Regions from separate parts of the Homo sapiens genome. Here region 1 is linked to region 2. Evidence: promoter capture Hi-C in 16 types of primary human blood cells and fetal thymus (Javierre and others, 2016). All regions are on one chromosome and are shown on one strand. The core of a region is centred on a gene start or on the middle of the fragment in contact, and the rest is flanking DNA. Distances in the headings are between cores, read along the strand shown. Region 1 holds the start of DRAXIN (dorsal inhibitory axon guidance protein). Region 2 holds the start of C1orf167 (chromosome 1 open reading frame 167).

What was found. Contacts are between HindIII fragments. The CHiCAGO score rates a contact against its expected background, and 5 or more counts as called.
Region 1: the fragment with the promoter of DRAXIN here is called in contact with the fragment with the promoter of C1orf167 in region 2 in 1 of 17 cell types (neutrophils); the score reaches 7.9 in neutrophils.

The regions. Positions count from the first base shown.
Region 1 is chr1:11,689,362-11,694,320 of GRCh38, reverse strand. It overlaps DRAXIN (dorsal inhibitory axon guidance protein), which reads right to left and starts at 2,611. Exons shown (of 7, transcript NM_198545.4): 1 at 2,468-2,611. It also overlaps a transcript of MAD2L2 not described here. RefSeq lists enhancers at 3,296-3,803, 3,804-4,313. The HindIII fragment of the contact is 12,625 bases long and covers 1-3,442 here.
Region 2 is chr1:11,759,115-11,764,095 of GRCh38, reverse strand. It overlaps C1orf167 (chromosome 1 open reading frame 167), which reads right to left and starts at 1,903. Exons shown (of 21, transcript NM_001010881.2): 1 at 1,791-1,903. It also overlaps the pseudogene LOC101060126. The HindIII fragment of the contact is 5,648 bases long and covers 1-3,669 here.

The DNA of each region.
Region 1 (4,959 bases), core at 1,362-3,861, 70 kb after region 2:
ACCCAGCAGAACTCAGCAAGACACTGGGGCTTGCAGTTTTCAGTTCATTCCTGTGCCTTTGACCAGGAATCACATTCAATATAACAGGTGTGCACAGAGCCCCTACTGCGTGCCAGGCACTGGGACCACAAGCAGAAGGAGACCCAGCCCCCACCCAGGGAGGAGCAGACCCCTCCCAGATAGGGATTATGCCGTGCAGTTCACAAGAGCTAGGGAGGCAAGGGAGTGCCGGGGTGCTTCCCACAGGAGAGGACATCAGACCTCCTTGGTCAGCAAAGACAGAGGGCTGAGATCAAACACAGGGCAGGGCAGAAAGAGCCCTAGCAAAAGCTCAGAGGAGGGCAGACTGTGGAGATGGTCAGTTCTCCATCGTGGCTGCAACCTGGGACGCAGAGGGGACAATGCTGGGAGGCAGGCAGGACAGGGCTAGGCTGGGCTGAGGTCTCTGTAGTTAACTGAGTGGCCACAGTGAGCCACTGAGGACTATGGACTGGGAGGGCGATGAATTGAATAGTGGGGAGGAAGGCAGCGGAGAGAGCAGAGAGGACCTGAGCAAGGTTCCCAAGCCTCTGAGCTGGCTTTGCTGCAGAAGGCAGGGGGTAGAGATGGTATGAAGGGCCGGGTTCACCAAAGTAGGGCCTGTCTGCCAGGTCGGATTTCGAGCAGGAGCCTGGATGGGGGATGTCGTGGGGATATCCAGCCGTTCTTGCCTCTAAAGAGAAAGGTTCCAGTTGCCAGCCCTGGCTGTGGCTGAAATAAGAACTCAGCCAGGGGAGCCTGGAACCTGCCAGCTGGGAGGTTTCCCTCTTCTGAAGTTGCCCTCATTAAGACACTCAGGCCACGTCACTGCCAGACTCCTGGAGTGGTGTGTCACATGTTATGACCACCTAGACAGTGGTCAGGGGGCTTGGGCAAGCACACAGCAGGTCCAGGAGCCAGCAAGACAATCCCCTCAGAGGAAAGGAAGTGGCCTGTGAGCTGGTGCCGCTATTAAAGGCATCAAGCCAAGACTGAGGTTCAGAATTGGGGGTGAGTCACCGGACGCCTTCTGATGGGTGATCAGTTGTTGGCAACACCAGCTCAGCCACACTGATCTCATTTTGAAAAAAAGTGACCCATTGGCCCTGATTGTTTTAGCTGATTTTAGGACAAGCAAAGAGGAGGAGAGAGAGAAAGAGAAGAGTGCTTGCAAGGGTGTGGACGCCTGTATGGGCACGAGGAGGTGAAGGTGACAGGAAGTGTGATGGGGGAAGAGGCTGTGGTGGTGGGGTTACTCTGAAGTGTCTCTAAGCCTTGACTTTGAGATCCATTTCTGTGGAGCCCCCTGTCCCCACCCCATCCCAGGTCTGTAGACTCCCCTCCCCTCCCCTCCCTTCCTCCACAGGGTGTGTGAACCAGCACCAAGCGGCACCCCACAATTTCCACACACATCCCTATAGGTAGGGACTAGCACCATCCCTGTTTTGTGACAGGAACACTGAGGCTCAGAGAGGTGCATTCCTTTGTCCGAGATCACTCCCAGAGCCCCAGTGTACCCGACTCCAGATGCATAGTACTGAACCGGTTCCAGACACCAGTGTGTCACTGGGCTGGGAGGTGGGCAGCGTGGAGGGAGCATATAGGGCAGGGGAGACCACCGGGCGGAGAGGATGGCCCAGGGAGCACCCAGCTGAGGAAAGCAAGAAAGACTTGGCGGGAAACCCCAGCCCTCTCTCATCTCATACCCCGGCCCCGAAGGCGGCTGAGACCCTTGACGAGCGGACGGAGAAAAGCCAAAAGCCGGCGGTGGGGAGCAGGAGGGACAGAGCGGGAGACCACAGGCGAAAGACCAGCGCCGTCGGGGGAGCCAGGCTGAGTACCTTCCTGGGCACAGATGGGACGGCGCGGGGCCACCGGCGGTGCTGGTTCCGGGCGCACTCAGCGACCCCGGCCACACACCCCAGCCTCCTGGGCGGCCTCGAAAGGGGCTGGAGGGCACGCCCGCCAGCTCTGCCCGGGGCTCAGGGAGTCTTCGAAGACTTCTTCCAACGGTGGCGGACTGGGGCCCCCTGCCTGAGAGACCACCCGGAGACTCAGAGACAGAGAGACAAAGGGAGACTGGGTCAGGGAGAGAGAAGGCTAGTGCCGAGGAGAGTAGGTGCGAGCCGGGACCCCAGAGGGCGGCGAGGGCGCGCGCGAGGCCGAGTGTCAGAGCGTGGAAAAGTGGGCGTCCAGCGGTAGGTGGACGGATGGGGAGCCCGGGAGCAGAGCCAGGGTCCGTGGGCAGACGCGGCGAGGAGAGGAGGCGGCGGAAGGACTGGCGGATAGACGGGTCCGAGGGCTGGGAAGGAGGCAGCATCCTCACTTCCAGCCTCGGGACCCCGCGCACCCCGCCCCTGGGCGCGCCAGGTAGCCCACCTTTGTCCGGGCTCGCAGCCAGGTGGGGCGGGAGGGGCGGAGCCAGGGGCGGGCCGAGGCCGTGCCTTACCTGTCCGGCCGGCGGGTAGGGGGAGGAGGGGCTCGGGGCCGAGCGCCCGCGGGAGCCGAGCGCAGCCGAGGGCGAGCCGCGGAACGGGGCCGGCGTGGAGAGGTGCGCGGGCAGCCGGAGGATGTGCCCGGGCTGAGCGGGACTGGAAGGAAGGGGGAGTGGGCGGGCAGGAGGGAAGGGGGCGGGAGCGCGGGGAGGGGACAGAGGAGGGGCGGCGGGTGGCGGGCTCGACTGCCCCCAGCCGAGGGGCAGCCCCGGGGCCGGGCCCGGCGCGCACCCGGCCAGCGCGCCCTCGCCAGCTGCGCTCTGAGTTCTGGGCCAGCTCCCCAGAGGCCTAGGCGCCGCCGCCGCGAGGGCGCGGGGCAGACAAAGGAGGCAGACAAAGGCGGGCGCAGCCCAGCAGCCGTGCGGGCACCGGGCGAGGCAGGCCCACTCCTCCCGGTGCGTAAGAGCCGCCTCGGCGCGGCCCAGGGCGCGTGGGACGGGAGGGGCTCCGGCAGTTGTGGCGCCTCTGGAGCGGCCCCGCGCAGGGCGGGCGACAAAGGGCCGCGGCGGGCGGTCCTCGGTGGACCCCAACAATGGAGCGAGGCTGCGCGCTCAGCTGCGGCCGCGTCTGTCAGGGCAGGGGCCCGGGGCCACAAAAGGATTATTCCGCCTAGACTGTCAAAAGGGACGGAAGAAATGCCCAGGGCGGGGGAGGCGGGACGGGGAACGGCGGGGCCTTTGTAGCCGCAGAAAGTGCGCAGAGTGGGCAGGCGGGGTTCTCCGAGAGGTCGCTCCTGGATGTAGGGGTACAAAGGGTCTTCAAAGTGCTACCAGCTCACCTGGGGCGCTGACGGCGCACCTGTGCCCTCTTTCCCGGTAGGGAAGGGAGAAAGACAACCGCCCCAATACACACACACACAAACACACACACACACACACTCACACGCGGCGCGGCTCTCGCCACGCCCCGTCCAAAGCCGGCCTGAAGCTTCTCAGACCGGCCCAACCCGGACAAAGCCAGCGCTGGGGCCGGCTCATCCATCACCGCGCGGGGCGCCGTGTCCTGACGACCCTGGGAGTCTGAGAATGCTGGGTTATGGGTCCCGTGCCTCCCATAACTCACGACGGGGTCGGTGGGGCCACGGACGCTGCAAAGATCAAAGAGCGATGGGGCCGGACTCCCATATGTGGGAAGCAGCGCTCCCACCTGGCGCCCTGAGCTCGCCAGGTGGCTTCCATTTCGACTGTTTTCTTTCTCCAGCGTGTGGCAAATTATGACTTTGAGGTTTTAGAACACAGTTCTGCCGTCAGGCTAAATGTCTGTGTTCCTCTTCTGATGCCGTCCCCTATGACCTCGAGCAAGTCGCCTGACCTCTGAGCTCATGATTATACCTAAATTTCAGTGTTCTAGGCGTGAATGCAGTGCCCTGTGTAAGGAGATAACGTTTCTAAGGTCTGGCCCATAGGAAATGCTCCTGTAAAATTAGCTGCCATTGTTACCGTGATATTATTAGCTTGGTGGGCACCAGGATGGATTGATGAGAACACTGAACTGTTTATTCACTGAAAGGTTTGAGTCATCCATCCCATAAATACCTATTGAACACCTACTATGTGCCGGCACCGGAGGTACAGTAGTAAACAACATGGACAAGAATCCCTGCCCCCATGGAGCTCAGATTCTAGTGAAGGAGACAGAAGATAAGTGAACAAATAAATATAAATGATGTCAGGTGGTGATTAGTGCTATGAAGAAAAGTAAAGCACATTACAGACAAAGCATGAAGGGACGAGGTGTTGTTTTACATAAAGTTATTAGGAAAGGCCTCTTTGCTGGGGCAGTTCTTTTGGCAAAGAAAAGGAGGTAATGAGCCACGTGGTTGTGGGGAGAAGACTTGCAAGCAGAAGAGCCACTGCAAAGGTCCTGGAGCGGGAGTGTGCTTGGTGTGTTTGGTGGAGAAGAGTCAGTCTGGAACAGAGTGAGGTGACATCAGACAGGGAGCTGGGATAGGACCATGTTGTTACAGGAAAGGGGTCCTGACCCAGACCTCAGGAGAGGGTTCTTGGATCTCGCACAAGAAATAATTCAGGGCGAGTCCATAGAGTAAAAAGTTTATTAAGACAGTAGAGGAATAAAAAGAATGACTACTCCATAGACAGCACAGCACCAAGGGTTGCTGGTTGCCCATTTTTATGGTTATTTCCTGATGATGTGCTAAACAAAGGGTGGATTATTCATGCTTCTCCCCTCCCCCCGCCTTTTGTTTTTCTTTTTGAGAGGGAGTCTTGCTCTCACCCAGGCTGGAGTGCAGTGGCACAATCTCAGCTCACTGCAACCTCCACCTCCCGGGTTCAAGCAATTCTCCTGCCTCAGCCTCCCGAGTAGCTGGGATTACAGGTGCACACCACCATGCCCGCTAACTTTGTGTTTTCAGTAGAGATGGGGTTTCACCATGTTGGCCAGGCCGGTCTTGAACTCCTGACCTCAGGTGATCCACCTGTCTCAG
Region 2 (4,981 bases), core at 654-3,153:
GCTGATCTGCATACAGGTCTGAACATGCAGGTCCAGCGACCTCCTCCACGCCTACCCGGATGTCTAACAGGCATCTCAGCATTAATATGTCCAAAACTGAACTCCAGCCGTCCTCGCAACCAGCTCTCTCCCATCTTGGTGCCCCCCTTTTCCACGGATGGCAGCTCCGGCCTTCTGGTGGCTCAAACAAAAATCCTGGAGCCACCCCGATTCCCCTTCTCCCTCACACCAGTGGCTGCTCTGACAGGCTCTGCCTCCCACACGCATCCAGGATCTGACCCCTGGAGCACTGGGCGGAGTGGCCCTCACCTGCCACCTCCCAACTGGTCACCCTTATTCTGCCTCGTCCTCACGCCCGACAGCCTCCTCTTCATGCGGCGGCAGGGTGATCCTGTAAACACTGAAATCAAATCATGCCCTGCCTCAACTCTAATGCCACAGAAGCTCTCCAGCCCCCTCAATGCCCCGTGAGCCTTCAAGGCTGTAGGCCAGAGGTTAGCAAATTACTGCCTGGGCCAGTGGTCTATTATGTGAATAAAGTTATATTGAAACAAAGCCCATTTGTTTACAGACTGTCTGCTTTCCAGCTGCAATAGCAGAGCTCAATAGCTGCAAGATACCTTAGGCTGCAAAACCTTTTTTTTTTTTTTTTTGAGCCGGAGTCTCACTTTGCCACCCAGGCTGGTACAATGGCGTGATCCCGGCTCACTGCAACCTCCGCCTGCCTCCCTGGGCTCAAGGGATCCTCCCACCTCAGCCTCTAACAAGCTGGAACCACAGGCACATGCCACCACGCCAGACTAATTTTTCTATTTTTTGGTAGAGACAGGGTTTCACCATGATGGCCAGGATGGTCTCGAACTCCTGACCTCAGGTGATTGGCCCGCCTCGGCCTCCCAAAGTGCTGGGATTACAGGCGTGAGCCACCACACCCAGCCCCGCAAAGTCTTTAAAATCTGGCTGCCAGTTATGGTCCTCCCCAATTCCTCTTCCCCTTGCCCACTGTCCTCCACACACACCAGCCCCCTGGCTGCTCCTCCAAATGGCACACACGACCTCACCTCAGCGCCTCTGTGCTGCTGTCCCCTCTGCCTTCAAGTCTTGCCTCCCACATCACAGTGAGCCCTCCCTGCCCACTGTCTCTCCAACTGCAGCAACCTGGCCTCTCCTCACTCTCTTTGCCCTGCACTTGCGGCCACCTAACATAGTGAAGAAATTAGTGTATTTCTCCCTCCAGTGGCCTAGGAGCCACACGAGGGCAGGCTGGTTTTTTTTGTTTGTTTGTTTCCCTGCTGGATTTGCAGCCCATAGAACAATGCCTGACCCCCAGCAGGGGCTTGTAAATGCACATTGAATAAATGACAACCGTGCTAGGCACCTTGCAGCCTTCAGCAGGCGTCCTGCCATTTAATCTGCACTGCAGCCCTGGGACTTAGGTTCCCTGTTTTAGAAATGAGGACAGGAGCTTAGAAGGGCCTGTCCCACCCAAGGCCTCAGAGGGAGCACCCCAGGGCTGGCTCCACAGCGCAGACTCCTAACCAAGAACACCCCACCATCCCCTCTTGCCCAAGTTGACTTGAGGCCGCTCAATCCACAGGAGACCTTCCTGCACCCCTGCCCCTCACGCCGGAGCTCTTCGGTCCATTTCTCCGCTCCTCGTCCGTCTCCCTCAGACTCCCCCCTCCCACTCCACCCCCACCCCTGTCCACTTAAGGGGGCTCACAGCCTCCCTCCTCTTGCCACCAAAAGAGTCTGAGGTCAGTTTCCTGCCCTCATGGATCTGCCCTCACGTGCGTGGGTCCTCCTCGGGTCCTCCTTCACCCAGTCGGATTTGAATCTAGACGGGGGCTGGGACCGCTAACGATCCCCGCAGGTCGGCAGGTCGCGGGCGGGAGGGGACGTCGGAGAGCAGAGCGTGCTGCCCCGCGCTTGGCCCCGCCCAGCCCTGAGCCGTGGGCGTGGCCACCGACGTCCTGGTACAGGTTTTGCCGGGTCCTCCGCAGGCAAGGCACGTGGTCCCAGGGCAACTTTTGCACGTGCAAGATGAGCGACATTCTCTTGGCCATCAGGTCCCCGGGAACCTCCTCCACCCTCTGCCCCGAATCCTGTGGCAGCATCACTGGGGTCTGGGCTTCCTCCACCAGGCGTGCCTCCTCTTGGCTCCTTCCCGCACCTAGAGCTGCCTCCTGGAGCCCCCGCACATCTGGGATACCCCCAGCCATGTCCCCACCACCTATGCCTCTTGGGGCTGCAGGACATGCCCCCGGCTCCCACTGGTAGGAACCCCAGGGGCAGGACATCCGGGTCATGGACACTCACATCCTCACCCGTTCCCAATAGGTGCGATGTCCCATCCAGGGATGTCTCAGATGCAGCTGGCAAACCATGGCCCTCATGGCTGAGGACACACCCGTGATGGGACCCCAGGATCTGGGGGGCAGCCACCACCCTGATCACCACCTGGAATGCCTCATCCTGGACCTCCTCCAATGAGCATGTCCCCCAAGGGGTCTCGGTCTGGATCTCCCATGGGTCACTCACGTCCTATGCCTCCATGGTATGTGTGGACCTCCTCCACCGATGCTGCCTCATGGATACACTGGCCCTCCCCAACACCCACCCTATGGCTTCCGGGGGGGACTCTCCCTCCACCCAGACCCACTCCGGGGCCTCCAGTTCCCCCTCAAGGCCCACTTTGGGGCCCTCTCCCTCAGTAAATTCACATTCTTCTTCCTCCTGTTATATCTTCCCAATATCTTTTTGATTCCTTGGACCAGAGATGCTGCAGCTCCTTGCAACTAAGGCACAAATCCCTTTCAGCCTTCCCATCTTCCTTTTTAATGCCATTTTTTTCCCCATAGAAGGTATTTCTTTTTCATGTTGGTCCTAAGTATTTTGCAAATGCAAAGGAAAATAAAACTATAACAAATTTCTTGTTAAAAGAAAGAAAGAAAGAAAGGCTAGGCACAGTGGCTCACACCTGTAATCCCAGCACTTTGGGAGGCTGAGGTGGACGGATCACAAGATCAGGAGTTCAAGACCAGCCTGGCCAACATGGTGAAACCCTGTCTCTACTAAAAATACAAAAATTAGCCGGGCATGGTGGCGGGCACCTGTAATCCCAGCTACTCAGGAGGCTGAGGCAGGAGAATCACTTGAACCTGGGAGGCAAGGGTTGCAGAGAGCCAAGATCCTGCCATTGCACTCCAGCCTGAGCAACAGACCAAGACTCTGTCTCAAAAAAAAAAAAAAAAAAAAAAGAAAAAAAGAAAAGAAAAGAAAAGGCTGGATGTGGTGGCTCATGCCTGTAATCCCAGCACTTTGGGAGGCCGAGGCAGCCGGATCACTTGAGGTCAGGAGTTCAAGACCAGCCTGGCCAACATGGCAAAATCCCATCTCTATTAAAAATACAAAAAGTAGCTGGTGTGATGGTGTGCACCTGTAATCCCAGCTATTCAGGAGGCTGAGGCAGGAGAATTGCTTGGACCTGGGAGGTGGAGGTTGCAGTGAGTGGTGATCATGCCACTACCCTCCAGCCTGGGTGACAGAGTGAGATTCTGTTTCAAAAAAGAAAAAAAGAAAGAAAAGAAAAGAAAAAAAAGAAAGAAAAACTCTCCCAGCCTTCAGGCACCTCAGAAACTGGCTGGACTCCACCTTAATACCCAAGCTTTGCCGTGCCGTCAGCCTAGCTCGATCACACTTCCTTCAAGGCTGCAAAGGTCCGTCCACTTTCCACCTCCCAAACCTTTGCCCACATTGTTCCCCACTGTGCCCAGCCATCCCACTCCTTCCTCTGTCCAGACTGTATGTTTTCTCCTTTCTAAGCACCTGCTGGGAGAGGAAAGAGCACTCAGTCAGAAAACCTGTGATGAACTCCTTCTGCTGGCCAGGCGCAGTGGCTCACACCTGCAATCCCAGCACTTGGGCAGGCTGAGGTGGGAGGCTCTCATAAGCCCAGGAATTCAAGACCAGCCTGGGCAACATTGCAAGACCTCATCACTACAAAAAAAAATACAAAAATCATCCGGCTGTGGTGGTGCACACCTGTGGTCCCACCTACTTGGGAGGCTGAGGCAGTAAGATTGCTTGAGCCCAGGAGTTCAAGGCTTCAGTGAGCTACGATCATGTCACTGCACTCCAGCCTGGGCAACAGAGTGAGACCCTGTCTCAAAAAAAAAAAAAATCCTTCTGCTGCTGTGTGATCTTAGGCAAGTCCCTAACCTCTCTAAACCTAAGGTTCCTCATATGTAAAAGGGGGATGGTTAGGCCCGATGCAATGGCTCACGCCTGTAATCCCAGTACTTTGGGAGGCCAAGGTGGGTGGATCACTTGAGGTCAGGAGTTCCAGACCAGCCTGGCCAACATGGCGAAACCCCGTCTCTACTAAAAATATAAAAATTAGCTTGGTAGTGGTGGTGCGTGCCTGTAGTCCCAGCTACTGGGGAGGCTGAGGTAGGAGAATCTCTTGAACCCGGGAGGCAGAGTTTGCAGTGAGCCAAGATTGCGCCACTGCACTCCAGCCTGGGTGACAAGAGTGAAACTGTCTCAAACAAAACGAAACAAAACAAAACAAAACAAAAGTGGTGGGGGTGGTAACACCTCCCTCCCCTACCTCTCTGCCTTGATGTGAGGGTCAGATGTTTAACAAATAAATGCCAAAGAACTTTTTAAATGCTAAAGCAATTCTTGAAGAAGGAGGGGGTGATTACTGCTCCCTTTATAGGTCTGTGTGTCTAATCTTTCCTCCTAAATCTGGTGGATGGAAGCTTTTGTTCTTTAGGTTTATTTATTTTATTTTATTTTATTGTTTGTTTATTTATTTATTTATTTGAGACGGAGTTTCGCTCTTGTTGCCCAGGCTCGAGTGCAATGGTGTGATCTTGGCTCACCGCAACCTCCACCTCCCAGGTTCAAGCGATTCTCCTGCCTCAACCTCCATAGTAGCTGGGATTACAGGCATGTGCCACCACGCCCGGCTAAT